2 separate regions of the Homo sapiens genome follow, and region 2 is linked to region 1. The links are contacts of gene promoters, found by promoter capture Hi-C in blood cells and fetal thymus (Javierre and others, 2016). All regions are on one chromosome and are shown on one strand. Each heading gives the region's core, a stretch centred on a gene start or on the middle of the fragment in contact. The rest is flanking DNA. Distances are from core to core; before and after follow the strand shown. Region 1 holds the start of STK17B (serine/threonine kinase 17b). Region 2 overlaps LOC124905959 (a long non-coding RNA gene).

Region 1 (7,272 bases), core at 3,532-6,031:
CCTTAAATAACGTGTGGTAGACACCTGGGAGAGGAAAACTGCAGACAGAAAAATGTGGCCGGATGCTCTGTGGGCGGGCGGCAGCGATGTTCGGCCAGGTGGCTCCAAGGAGAGGAAGCAGTGATGCATTGAGGTAAGAGAGCTGACAGATGAAACCACATGGACCCTAAGACAGAGTGGAAGGAGGGTGCCTTAAATATTGTAGGGTGTGCTCTTATCAGGTTATGAGAATGCAGTTGGGATACAGGTTTGCTTTCTCTTGCCTGTATCATCGGAGTGATGATTCAGATAAATTTAAAAATTACTTTATTCTGAAGTATGTCTGATGTGAAGAGGCTTAAATAATATCTTAGGATTAAGAGTCAGGAGACCTAAATTATTGTTCAGATATGTACCACCGAATTTAGGTGTGTGATCTTTTGCAAGTCCCTCAACTTCTCTCACTGTAGGTTTCTTCCCTTCTAAAACAAGGGAGTTGGGTTACTGAACTGCAAGAATTTTTCTAGCTCCAGACTGCTCTGATTGTCTCTAGCACTGGAAATTTAGACACAATTAGAAGGCACGTTTCTAGCCCTTCAGACCTACACTGCCTAACTTAGTAGCCACATGTGGCCATGAAACACTTGGGATGTGGCTAACATGACAAAATTTTCTATTTTATTTCATTGTCATTAAATTTATATTAAGAAACTGATACTGTATTTAGTTATTGAAAAACTTTATTTATTTTTGAGACAGAGTCTCGCTTTGTCGCCCAAGCTGGAGTGCAGTGGTACACAATCTCGGCTAACTGCAACCTCTGCCTCCTGCGTTCAAGTGATTCTCCTGCCTCAACCTACTGAGTTGCTGGGATCACAGGAACCTGCCACCATGCCTGGCTAATTTTTGTATTTTTAGTAGAGACGGGGTTTCACCATGTTGGCCAGGCTGGTCTTGAACTCCTGATCTCAAATCATCTGCCCGCCTTGGCCTCCCAAAGTGCTAGGATTACAGATATGAGCCACCACACCTGGCGTGAAAAACTTTAGTTTGTTCAAAACAACTTAGGAATGTGAATCTGCTTTTTGCAACAGTAAATTTTGTGAAATCTAAATACAGATCAAGTGTTTCCGATGAAAATTTGGCATCTGAATTGGGACATGCTGTAAGTATAAAATACTAGATTTAAGACAATATTAAAAAAGGAAGTAAAATGTCTCAATAATTTTTGTTGATTACATGTTGAAATGACAATGTTTTAGAAATATTGGGTTAAATAAAATAAATTGTTAAAATTAATTTTATCTGTGTTTACTTTTTAAAATATGACTAGTAGAACATTTGCCAATGTGCGTGGCATTTCTTTTGGACAGCTTTTACAGGACAGGTTATACTCTATAAACTGCAGTGAGTGGTTGGATTGGCATATTGGCCCTAGTTGATCATGGATGTTTTGGAGAGGAAAGCTGTGTCACCCTTTAAGGAAGACACTTGTACCAGTCTGAGTTATTACTCTCATCAGACAAAACTAGCCCCAATTAGCTTTGCTAATAGTGTTTCAAGAGAGTCAGGGGATGTGAGGTCTCTTAGAGTCTCTCTGGTTCTCAGTGCTTTCAAAATTGCAATGTGCTGTAGGCACCATGAGTAAATGCACTGCGACATCTCCATCTGAGTACACTCACTATTCCTACCTCCAGAGAGGGGATCTGTTTGGAGGAGCCTGTCTCCATTCAGTGAGCACCCCTGTTGGGTGGGGGGTTGAGCCACGCCCCTTCAGAGGCTGTTGGCCTTGCCTGCGTCTGGCTACCTTTAGCCTAGCCACAGGTTTCTGGTATATTCAGTTCTAGACAGGTAGTAGAGCTTGTTTTGCCTTTTCCACATGAATTCTTCAGAAGGAGGGTGTGTCAGTGGCAAGAGTTTTGAGTTTGAGGCCTTCTGCTCTGTGCAAAACCCTCCTTTTCTGCATCTACAGGGAGTAAACATGGAATCGGTGAGAATCACTTTCCTTGATCATTATGTGGTCAGTATGCGGTGACTGACTTGATGTGACTGGGGAAGGTCCCTTCCCTGGACAGAATATGGTGAGTGTCGTGCCATTACCGGAGAGGATCACCTTCCCTGGCCACATGTGGTAAGCAGTGACTGGGAACGATCATCGCTCCCAGTCAGTGTGTGATTACTAACCTGGAGTGATCCAGGAGGACCACTGTATTTGTTTGCTTGGACTGCCATAACAAATACCACAGAGCGGACAGCTTAAACAACAGACAGTTCTGGAGGCTAGAGGCTGTTGATCAAGATATCAGCAGGTCTTGTTTCTTCTGAAACCTCTCTGCTTGCTTTGCAAATGGCCACCTTCTTGTTATGTCCTCACAGGGTGGTCCCTTAGTCAGTGTTGTATGTGTCCTAATTTCTTCTTATCAGGACACCAGTCATCTTGGATCAGGGGCCACTCATATTATCTCATTTTACCTTAATTACCTCTTTAAAGGCCCTATCTCCACATACGGTCATACTCTGAGTTCCTGAGGGTTAGAATTTCAACGTATGAACTGGAAAAGAACACAACTGAGCCCATAACAACCGCCATCCCTGGTCGGAATGTGTCATTCAAGGATGGTCAACTTAATGAACTGTGTGGTCAGAAGCAATGACCACAGAATGACCATCAGGTCACCTGGAGATTTCCTACTCAAGGGAATGAGAGCAGGAACATATATCTTTGACACGGTGATGAATGAGTTTAGGTAAATGAGGTGGATGGAGGAATGTATTGACTTCTGAATTTTCCTGCAAGGCCACAGATGTACTGCCTCCTCCTCAGCACCAGGAATTCCTTGTTACTTGAACCACAGTGCCTGAGACCAAGTAAGTGTAGTTGAATGTCCTTGGGATAGTGTGGTAAGTCCTAGTTAACAAATCTGACATCAGGCACAAGGGTTAACAATCTATTTAGGGTCATAAAAGAAACACAAACTATCAGCCCTGCACCAAAGAACATAAGGCAGAGGTGATCAGGCTGGGAACAGAAAGTAGGAATCAGCAGAGTTCTGATTCCTGAAGAGGGTAACCTTCTTAAAGTCAGAAACTGATGAACAGGTATGGATGAGGAGGATGGTGATAAGCTGGAGCTAAGGCAGAAGCAGGAAAATGCAAGACATGACAATATCCCTAGGAGGCTGGCTGGTTACAGCAGAGGTATTGTGACCAAGAGGACTGGCTTACAGTGGTGCCAGAGAGAGAAAAGTCTGTGTCTAGGTGTGAAGTGATCTGGGACTGGATTAGTGACGGGGAGTATGGGGTGAGTGTGAGAAGATTGCTAAAAGCTGGCAATTGATGAAATGTTGAAATTAAGGAGGTCCAAAGTTAAACACACAACCCCAAAACCACCATAATGATGTAATCCTGTGACCCCCAAGAGGTTACTAGTTTTGGTACTGGTGCTGAGACCTCTGGAATGCAACACCTATGCTCATGAAAGAAAAGATGGGAACAGTCTCATTGCTTACGGATTCTTATACCCCAGAAAAGTTAATTCCAGTGTGTGGCATTTTATTTTCATCCTAACTTTAGGCTTCTCTAGTCAGCCCAATTGTTAGCAACAAGAAATTAGATAGATGGAAGCAATATTCTCCATTTGACAAGGTTTAGGGGCAAGACATTATTAACCTGGGAGGAGGAGTTAACCTAAGTAACAACAAACAGACTTCATAAAAGGGCTGTGATGCATTCTATACCTTTATCTTGGGGAAAATGCAGTAGGAAAGGGAAACAGCTAGCTTCACAGGAATTTGCTTGGCTTACTGGGATAGAACAAGAAAACCTGTCCTTTATATGCTAACTGAACATTAAGTCTTTTGAAAGCAAGAGGACGACTCCACTCCCAGTATCCTTTCCCACGGAAGGGTTTTCTGCAATTATCGTAAATGTCCTCTGAAAGCAATCCTAGATTACATAACTAATCCCATATATGTATGAGTATGTGTGTATCCTATACATATAAACTAGGATTATATATCTATGTAAAACATTTGTGTCTTGCACAGAACTTTGAAAATTTCCACTGTCTTCAAAGGATAACAGATCTTGAGTAGGTTGCTGAGGGCTTTCATCTTTTTCCTTAGCACTATAAATGCAAAATCGGCTATTCAGCCTATTGGGACCCTCCCTACACTGCCTTCAGTCAGTGCCTCAGAAGGGACACCATTCGCGACAGCGGACGTTAGCAGTGGGGTCTAGGTTCCATAAATCCCCAACTGATGTTGACACTCCGAGGAACCTCTGCCAAGTTGTAGCAAACTGGGTTCTCCACTTACAGGGTACGTTCCGGTCCTAAGGAAGACTCTCAAGAAGAGTCAGAAAATAGGTCTTTGGTAGGCACTGAAGTTTGGTAACTAGTCGCAGGCAGCTGGGACGAATTTTGCGGCTTCCTTCTCCCCGGTCTCCGGATATTCACACCTCTCGAACTGACCTCTCTGAAGGTGGGAAGGAGTACACAGAGCAGTAGTTCCAGCCCCGCGCGCCCCCTCTGCAGCGCCGCCCCCTCCGCCCCTCCCTCGCGGCAGCCCGAGTGCGCCCCACCTGCGCCGCCACGCCGCCGCGCCTCCCCGCCCCGCCTCGGGCCAGCCAGGCGCCGCACCCTCTCACCGCCGGGCCCCGCCCCGCACACGCGCCCCCGGCCGGTGCCCCGCCCCTCCCGTCACGTGACAGACCCACCCTCCGCACCCGTTCCGATTGGCTCTCCCGACCTAGGGGGAGGGATCTGGCGAACGGCGATGCCCCAGACGCGGCTGCAGTTTTCAAACCGCGACTGCAAGCTTCGGTAGTCCTCTCCGCTGCTGTCGCCAGGAGTCACTTCACGAGAAGCCAGGTCACAACCGTCGGCCCTTGTCTGGAAAAGTAAAAGTGGATCCTGCCACGTTCGGAGCTCCCTGGCGCCTCGCCCGGCTGGAGCTAGAGAACTCGTCCTGTGGCGGCCCCCGGCGTGGGGCGGGACAGCGGCCCCCTGGAGGGGGCAGTCCCGGGAGAACCTGCGGCGGCCGGAGCGGTTAGTGTCCTGCGGGATTGGCGGGTTGGCTCGGGGCTGCGATGGAACCAGCCGCCTCGGTACAGAGACCTCATACGTGAGGAAGGAGGACCCGAGGAGGGTTTAGGCGGTACGGTCCGGCTGAGAGGGGCTTGGACTCCGCCGCCCCTGAGGTGGCTGATTGCTGCTGGCGCCTCTCCGCTTTGCGGCTGGAGTCCGGGTTCCCTGGGGCTCCGCGCGGGGGGCGGCCGGCGGTCCTCCCACCACCCTCCTCAGCCCGGGGCGCGTGTCTGTGTCTGTGCGTGTCCGTGTGTCCCCGTGCGCCCTCCACCCGGCCGGCCCCGGCTCTCCCCAGGTCGCGCCAGGCAGGGCCCCCTTCGCGGCGGGCCCGCGCGGGTCCCTTCCACAGCAAGGCCACGCGGTCCCCCTAGCCTCTCCCGAGTCCCAGCTGCGGCGTGGGCGCGTTCCCATCGGGACTCGTGGACGCGTCCTGCTCCCAGCTGCCTTTCGTCTAGAGAAAGTTCGTGTTCATCTTGTGGGACGTTTTCAGTTACTGCTTGGGAACAGTGTTTTAAAACCAGCGAGAGATCAAGACGGGCTACAGCTGTTTCCGTGATTTTCAGCGATCTGATTTTTGCTTTGATGCCTTGTGACCCACTTAGTGTGCACGACTCATCCTCAAACTATACCACTACTGGATGCCAACGATTTTTGACATTTACCCAGGCTCTTTGTTTTATTGTAGGGAAAAGCGTTTCATTTGAATTTCCTCCGAGGGAGAAGTAGAGACAAAGTTGAAAGAGGCTTTATAGCAGCTGGTAGCTGGCATTAGTTTCTGTCTGGACTAGAGGCACTCTGACATCAATTTGGAAATTGGAATTAAGAAAATACGTTTTTAAAATCGTAATACTTATCAGATTTCACTAATATTTAAACACATGAGGACTGTGTATCACATTCACCGATTGTTTTGTCGACGTAATGTTTACATCTGTGGTGCTAATGATAAGCAGAACCTTGCCAGGGACGTTTGACGTGGTGTGGCCACTTTACGTTTTCAAGTCTATGAGAATGTCTGCGCGGAGACAGCATAGCTCTGTAGAAATGAGTGGCAGCGTATGTAACCTGGCATTTTGAACCCAGGAGCACAATTTTATTAAAGGAAAATAAACCTACTTTCTCATTGATAACACTGTTTTTTAGTTTTATGGTGAACTGTTCGGAAGTAATTTTCAACAAGTGCTTATTTTATAAATATTAGACCGTGTACCCCTAGGATTGTGTATTTTTTAAGAAAACTGGTCCATAGAAGCGGTGCAAAAGTTTTAAACTCATCTGCCTCGGATCCTCCTCCTCTGAGCAGATGCTCAATTAAACTTTTTCTAGTATCTTAATAATTGGAGGTATTAATAGATGTTTTATTTTTGAGATACATATTGTACATTTTAGATCTTTTTTTTTTTCTAAAGTAGGGATCCAAAATTGAGGTGAAATATATTTGCTTACATGGCAAGACTTTTTAAAAGTAGAATTTCTGTAATTGAAGACCATCCTTTTTTGTGTGTGAATAGAATGGTTGCGGTTTCTCTTGGGATCATTGATTAGTGAATTACGATTTGGTTAAGATAGAATGCGTTTTTAGGAAGTTGGAGGTTTGACTAATCGCTGTGTTAGCATATGAGTAACAAATTTGAAGAAGATACAAGCATTTTTATGGCTGACGTTTCTAATCAGATAATTTTATTTTTAAGCTTGCTCTGTTTTACTTTTGTTAAGTGAACATTTTAACATGTTTTAAAGCTCTTTGATAATTATAAGGGAGAATTTCCTTATGAAAATATTTTTGCTTTAATTTTAGAGACACAAGAAGTCAAGGAATTCAGTTAATAACACTTTCACTTAATCGTTAAATTGCCTTAAAATTGCATGCATAGTATATTGTAATTCACATTTTCTGTATGTAAGATTGGCAGTTAAGAATAGTATTCTGGCCGGGCGCAGTGGCTCAAGCCTGTAATCCCAGCACTTTGGGAGGCCGAGGCGGGCGGATCATAAGGTCAGGCGTTCGAGACCAATATGGTGAAACCCCGTGTCTACTAAAAATACAAAAATTAGCCGGGCATTGTGGCGCGCGCCTGTAGTCCCAGCTACTCGGGAGGCTGAGGCAGAAGAGTTGCTTGACCCGGAAGGCCGAGGTTGCAGTGAGCCGAGATCACGCCACTGCACTCCAGCCTGGGCAACAGAGGGAGACTCCGTCTCAAAAAAAA
Region 2 (7,256 bases), core at 4,603-7,102, 4.6 Mb after region 1:
GAGGAAGATAGAGCAAAACAAAATCTCTAATTAATCAAGTTTAAAATCTGCTCACTCCAGCAGATGGAAGTAGGGAAAAGAGGTAGGATGGGAAGGGGGTGGTACCATTGCCTCTGATAAAAATTGTTGAGTCACAGCACCTTAGCATGTGTCTAAGTCATCAGTGTATGGGGATGTAAAGTGGTAGGAAGTTCAGCAAATGCTTTAAAAAATTAATTTGGGGGTTTTAATAATTATAACCTCAAAGTAGGCATATATGCAGTAACAATTCTGAGAGTTTTAGCTGCCTTCCAATTAGTGACCCTTTAAGAAACTTCTGAATAGATCCATTTATGACTCATTGCTTATGACTTTAAAGCTATTCTAGGGTTTGTCAGCATCTTGTGAAATTAGATGGGGAGGACTAAGAGGAAGGCAAACCTGGAAAATGACACAGTTTTGTGAAGATTAATTTCAGGCTTGCCTTCTGTGGGTAGAGAAGGGATTCAATTGGCTTCTTCATTTCTTACAGAATAGCTTTTCTCATTATCCCTGAGCTGTGAACCAATGGCATGCTAGAAGCCTATGAAGTATGTTTAGGGAGCAAAAGCCAATTGGGTATATTTTTCCCAATTCTACATTCAGTGTCATCTTTAACCAGCAAACACTAGGAATCAGAACCAGTTGTTGAAAATTTGCCAGCACATCACTGCAGAAAATTGTACAAATTCTCCAGCAAGACATTCTGGATAATCTTCCTCTGAGACGAAAGAAGAATTCTGAGGCTAACCTTGGAAGGCAGCTACAACAAGTGCTATAAAAGCCTCAAATGGTTTAACAAATACAAAAAAAAAAAATAGGTATAGCTAGGCTTTTTCTTGTAGAGGAATGATAGCAATAGAGTGCCTCTGGATTCAACACAGAAGCTAACATTAACTGTCGGGGGTAGCCATTGGGAATTAAACTCACAATCTTGTAAGATGGATAAAACAGCTTCATAAATAACTATGATATGAGACAGAAGGTGGTCAGAGGCACAATGTACAAATGAGAGGAGATTATTCAGAGGAGGCAAAAGCTGAGCCCACCGCATGGCCAGGTGTAGGGCCTCTCGCAGGTGAGGAATGCCCGGGATGCACCCATTTCTAAGCCTCCTGTTGTACTAACACAGGAGGAAATGCCACAACAGGATTACAAATATTGTGGTATGTCTTTACTAAATATATTACTACTTTGAATAAACCTATACACAAAATATAATGCTATACAATTGCAATCTTCATAACATTTTAGAAGTTATTAAAATATTAATTAACTGTGCACTACAGGGGGTATGGTTTCAGTGGAAAGTTGTCTAATAAACATCTTTTTTGAAAACTGTTAGTGAATCTGAGTGACTCCTTGTTGAACCTCTGTGGGAGGTCAGTCTAAACCTTAGGGCCATCTTGACAGGAAAGCCCCCACCCTCAGAGCCAGGATTATGGCAAAGTTCATGACGTCCAAGCAGGACTTTGTCATATACAGAAAGAAGCATTTATCCAGCAGAACTTGGATATTTTCATTTTTACATAGGTAAATTACCCTAATAACAAGTGTATCACCCTCGAATACTCAAACAATTTTGTCTATACAGTATTTAATGAGAAAACTTCCACAGCCTTCTATTATAGGTTTTTAAAAATAACGTCACCTCCTGTTGACAAATTCGGAAGTATTGTTACTCTCTGCTCTCATTATGTGACATGGTAACTGACAATACAGTTTTGCCCATTTAAGGTTTTGTCTGCTGCCCGTTCGATGCTGAAGTCACTTCCTGCTGCTGTTGGCACATCTGCCTGCCCCCTGCAGCTGAGCTTTTTCTGGTTGGTGATTACTCTGTACACTGGTTTGCTGCTATTTGGAGAATCAGATAAGCAGCTTGTTTACATTTGTTATGAAGAATCTGTAACATAAGAGAGGGAGCTGCAACCTCTGACCCTGATGGGACTGTATAACCCACCTTCTCCACAGACTTTGTAGGCTAGAGCTGTGCTTGGGAGCTTGGTTGTTGCTGGAAATATGGTGTCTAGATGAGGAGTTTTTAATATACTGTTATGGGCTGAATTGTGTCCCCCTCAAAATTCACATGTTGAACCCCCTATCCCCAGTATCTCAGAATATGATTGTATTTGGAGATAGGGTCTTTAAAGAGGTAGTTAAGTTAAAATGAGTCATTAGTGTAGGTCCTAATCTGATAGGACTGGTGTCCTTATGAAAAGAGATTAGGACACAGACTGGCACAGAGGGAAGACCCTGTGAAGACACAGAAAGAAGATGGCGGTCTACAAGCCAAGGAGAAAGACCACAGAAGAAACCGACCCTGCTAACACTTTGATCTTGGACTTCTATCTCCCAGGATTGTGAGAAAATAATTTTTCGTTGCTTAAGACACTCAGTCTGTGGTGCTTTGTTATGGCAGCCTGAGCTGACTAATCCACTAACCAGGCAGCTTTCACCTGTGGTGCAGTGTCCTGAGATTATGCCTGGAGTAGAGAAAAGTAAGAGTTATCCCATAGGCTCCCCTCACCAAGCCCATGTCTCAGGACAACTCTTTTATTTAACCTGTTGGTATTATTGCAAACTTTAAGGTTTTCTAGGTGTGGAGCCACCAACTCACTGATGAGAAAGGAAGAGATGACTGGACCCTGCAAGGAGACAGAGAAATGAGCTTTGATGTACACAAGAATAATGAGGAATTTAAGCAAAAAAAAAAAAAGTTTCTCCTATGGGAAGGTGGATTCTGAGCTATTAGTTAAAAGTTAAGAAAAACACCAGGAATTGTTGTTAATTCTTTCCTAAATCTATCAGTTCAATTAGCTGCTGAGACCAAAAAAAAGTCATAAATTGTGAGTTTTTATACACAAAACATTTTTTATAAAGCATAAAAGTAAATCATCAGAGTATCCTTGAACAAAAACCACAGTGAAAGATGAATGACTATGTAAAAACCCGATATGAATAATTTTAAAAAGACATCAGATAAAAAGAAAAGGCCTAGAGAGAGAATGAAAATTTGAAGGGAAAGAAGGGACTTAGAAATGAGGACAGAAGGGACCAGGAGAAAGAGAAGGAACAGAACTGCAGTTTTGGAAATTATGAGATAAAGTCTGGGTAGACAGGTGCTGTTTCCTCCAAACCTCAGAGTGCCAGGCCTGATGAAAACTTGTGAAGTTTGAAGCCTTGCTTTAGGATACATGAAAGACAATCAACCCTTGCCTAATAGGTAATAGTCAATATTCTAGTCTTCTCTCAATTATTGGCTGGACCAAAAAAAAAAATGTATATAGATTTGAAGTAGATTTGTATCAGCATATTGATGAATGGATAATATTAAAGGAAACTTAATGTTTGAGAAATTCCTAAGGAGCAGAGGCTGAATCCAGGGTAAACAAACTCACTCGCCCACCATTGATCCCAGAGCCCCTGCCTGAGATAGAACTCACATGTGTCTTCATGGGGCGCAAACCAAAGATACCCTATAAGCCTGGGTGGGGTGGGAGACACACAGGACAGAGAAGCGCTAGGTCTTTACGTATCTTCAAGGGGATTTCATTTTTTGTCTCCTTAATAGCCTTAAAATTTTCCCATCTTCTTAGAAGTGTTAGCCATTTCTAAGAATACACAAATAACAAAAGTATGTTTTTCCACTGTTCCTAAATGTTAAAGCAGAAAAATCTTAAACCAACTTGGAGCCCTTTGAAGTCAATTATTGCCTACTGAAAAGCAGTGTCCTTGTTTCCACATCATGCCTGGCAGGTGAGCTCAGACACAATCTACTGACTCCAGGACTGTTATCCCTGGACTCGGAGATGTCCTTTGCAGATTGACTCCAAAGAAAGCCAGCAGGTCCAGACTTGGTGTGGCTGAACCCCAGGCTCATGAGCTGATATGATTAACACATTATCTTCAGACGTGAGCACCTGCAAGCAAGGGGATGGGGCCTGGCAGAGCTGCTAACAAGTCAGATTCCAAAGAACCTGACAAACTGGAAAAGCAAACACAGATGAGCATGGCCAGGTGTCCATGAATTGACCATTTAACCTCACCTGAGTTTACTTCTCTGGTGACCACACTAGCAAGAACTTTAGCCATGTAACTCACCAACCTGTGAGCGCTAATTAAAGTTTGCTAAGAGCTTTATAATCAGTCCAGACAACTGCTCTGGGAATGCAGAAGTACTCATACATACATAGTGCTGCTCTTAATCTTTTGTTGTTGTTAGGATTCTTCCTGTTTTATAATAATGCTTCAGCACATAATTGGCTGCAAAGATTCTATTTTTGTTGTGGGGTAGGAAGTCCTCATTCACAATACGCACTCTTTTCCTTCTCACAGTGGTGCAATGTAAGCACCATAATGCATGTACACAGCAGGGATGATGGATAGCACTACAACATCCATCCCCTCTCCTCAAACCTCCTCTGGACAGAGGAGTCGGGTGTGAGGTGAATAGTCAAGGGTGGGCTGGAGGTGCTGTCTCTGGGCTGTCACTGAGGTGTTCTCCATGAGCACACATTGGTTGGCATGTGACTCAAACCCAGCCTTTGATTCATAAGACATTTTAGCTCTCATTCTATGACTTGAGATGTGAGTGCTAGAACAAAACAATTGACTAGAGGTGGAAGCCAGGCATTTAACATTAGGATTCATTTACTTCATAGTCTAAAGTATATGCCCTACTATCCCCAACACCCACACAGTCCCAAACACCACATCTTTTTTCTTTTTCTTTTTTTTTTGAGATGGAATTTTGCTCTTGTTGCCCAGGCTGGAGTGCAATGGCATGATCTCGGCTCACTGCAACCTCCACCTCCTGGATTCAAACGATTCTCCTGCCTCAGCCTCCCAAGTAGCTGGTATTACAGGAATGCACCACCATGCCCAGCTAATTTTGTATTTTTAGTAGAGACGGGATTTCTCCATGTTGGTCAGGCTGGTCTTGAAATCCTGACCTCAAGTGATTCACCTGCCTCGGCCTCCCAAAGTGCTGGGATTACAGATGTGAGCCACCGCATCCAGCCAACACCCCATCATTGTTTGGCCATCAGATAATTAATTCTACAAACTAGCTGAGTAGGGGCAGGGGGCCAAGAATGCAAGGAGGCTAACTTTGACCTATTCCATTCTCAAATGTAAGCTAAGTAAACACAAAATCTTTGAATCTGGAGGAAACTTACAGGTCTATCAAGTCCAAATTTCTATACAATATGAAATCTCTTCATTACGTCACCAACATATGGTCATGTACCCTTTGTCCAAATCTCTAAAGACAGTAGGTAGATTTTTTACCCTGAACCTAATGAAACGTTTCATTTGGTGCCTCTCACTGCCAAGGCCTTCTTCCAGGCCCTGTGCTAAATTTTGTATGTATCATTTACATTTTTTTCTTTAAAAGGGCCCCCAGAGTGGGGGCCCTGTATAAGCTTCTGGCCCCACAAAACCTGAGGTAGGGACAATAATACCTTTCCAAAGAGCAATGCAAAATGCTTTCTTACATTGGAATTAAATCTGCTTCTACAAGTACACCAAAAATATCAGAAACATGTTTTCGGTGATAGAGTGATATTTCTGAGATTGAGTGTATTCATTGAGTGAGTATTTAACAGGGTTATCTGAAAGTCCTACATTTAGATTTAAAAAACAGTTGCTCTCTTTCACCCCAGTACCTTCATTCAGGCTGACCCCTCTTCCTAAAAATCTCTCATCTTTATTTTGTCTGATTATCTCCTACTTTGCTTTCAGATCTCAAATCATTAGCTCCTCAAGAATGTCTTCCCTAACTTCCCTGACTAGGACAAATCTTCCTATACCTAGTGTCATCACACTATGCTTCTTCAGGGCACATACCACATTGTAACTTTTACACATATTTGCATGCTTAGATTTCTCTCTAAATAACCCACCAAGCTGAAAGATGCATGAGGCCCATTCATTACCTCCCTTTTCTCACCTCCACAAGCCCAAACTCAGCACAGAGCCTGGCACAGAGAAGACACTCAAGACATTCACAGACTGAATCAATAATGCACAACAAGGGTTAACAGCAATTGGTAAGAAAAGGTCCTCTAGATTTAGGTTAAACATAAATTTAATAAGAACTGAAAAGTCCATGTGATAAGGAATTATATTTTAGCTCATTATGAAGTACATTTTCTGATAATTATTGCTGTCCAACAGTGAAATGGGCTACCTTAAAAGTAGAGTATGACCCTCAAAGGTACATGTTTACAACTAGGAAAGCTTACAATTGGACTAAGATCAGATAGATCATTTAAGATTTGTTTCAACTAGAAATCTTGTGGCCATTGAGATATAGCTTTTGTTAATGGCACGATGATGATCTGCATATGTGTTAATATGGTACTGTGTTTAACAAGGAAGACATTAAGTAGAACAAAACAGTTTCTGTTAGAAATTTATGTTCGGTATAGATAGGAACCAACACAGAGGAGTAACTATATGTAAGAAAATAACAGCACTGGAAGGGGGAACCCAGAAGGAATCTGCAGTCTCACTGAGTACAGAAAGATCAGAGTTCAGAGCGCTTAAGGTGTTTAGGATTTGTAACCCTGAGTACCATCAAGGAGGGAGCTTCAGGGCCTGGGAAATCTACAGAGAGGTCCCTTCAGGTATTTGACTGAGTGCTAATCTGGACAAGCATGAGAGGAAACCACCCAAGGCTGGGGAAAGAACCATGAGAATGAGTAGGCAGAAAAATGTTTGGAACTTACACAAGGCTTGGACTAGTTAATTGTCCTTTCAGCCAGAATAGAAAGACCTCTTAATGCAAAGGACATCAGGTGTTGGCAAACTACAGCTCACAGGCCACACCCAGCCCACAGACTTTTTCAACAGCTCACAAGCTAAGAATGATGTGTATATTCTTGAAGGATTGAAAAAACAAAGAAATATATGCAACAGACAGTGTGTGGCCTGCAAAGCCTAAAATATTTACTATGTGTCCACTACCAAAAAAGTTTACCAATCCTCCAAATAGTCTGTAGACAGCTATCAGTTTTATTATTATTATTATTATTATTATTTCGAGAAACAGTCTCACTCTGTCACCCAGGCTGGAGCGCAGTGTCACGATCTCAGCTCACTGAAACCTCCACCTCCTAGGTTCAAGTGATTCTCATGCCTCAGCCTCCCGAGTAGCTGGGATTACAGGCACACACCACCATATCTGGCTAATTTTTGTATTTTTGGTAGAGACAGAGTTTCACCATGTTGGCCAG

The links. Contacts are between HindIII fragments. The CHiCAGO score rates a contact against its expected background, and 5 or more counts as called.
Region 2: a fragment that was not itself captured here is called in contact with the fragment with the promoter of STK17B in region 1 in 1 of 17 cell types (total B cells); the score reaches 5.3 in total B cells.

The regions. Positions count from the first base shown.
Region 1 is chr2:196,169,087-196,176,358 of GRCh38, reverse strand. It overlaps STK17B (serine/threonine kinase 17b), which reads left to right and starts at 4,781. Exons shown (of 8, transcript NM_004226.4): 1 at 4,781-5,026. LOC101927454 (a long non-coding RNA gene) reads right to left here and starts at 4,820. Exons shown (of 2, transcript XR_923737.2): 1 at 4,728-4,820; 2 at 3,511-4,454. RefSeq lists an enhancer at 1-58 and silencers at 4,486-4,715, 5,236-5,455. The HindIII fragment of the contact is 11,036 bases long and covers 1-4,798 here.
Region 2 is chr2:191,619,836-191,627,091 of GRCh38, reverse strand. The region is part of intron 1 of LOC124905959 (a long non-coding RNA gene); the gene reads right to left. Among named protein-coding and RNA genes, the nearest start is that of NABP1, 55 kb to the left of the region's middle. The HindIII fragment of the contact is 817 bases long and covers 5,444-6,260 here.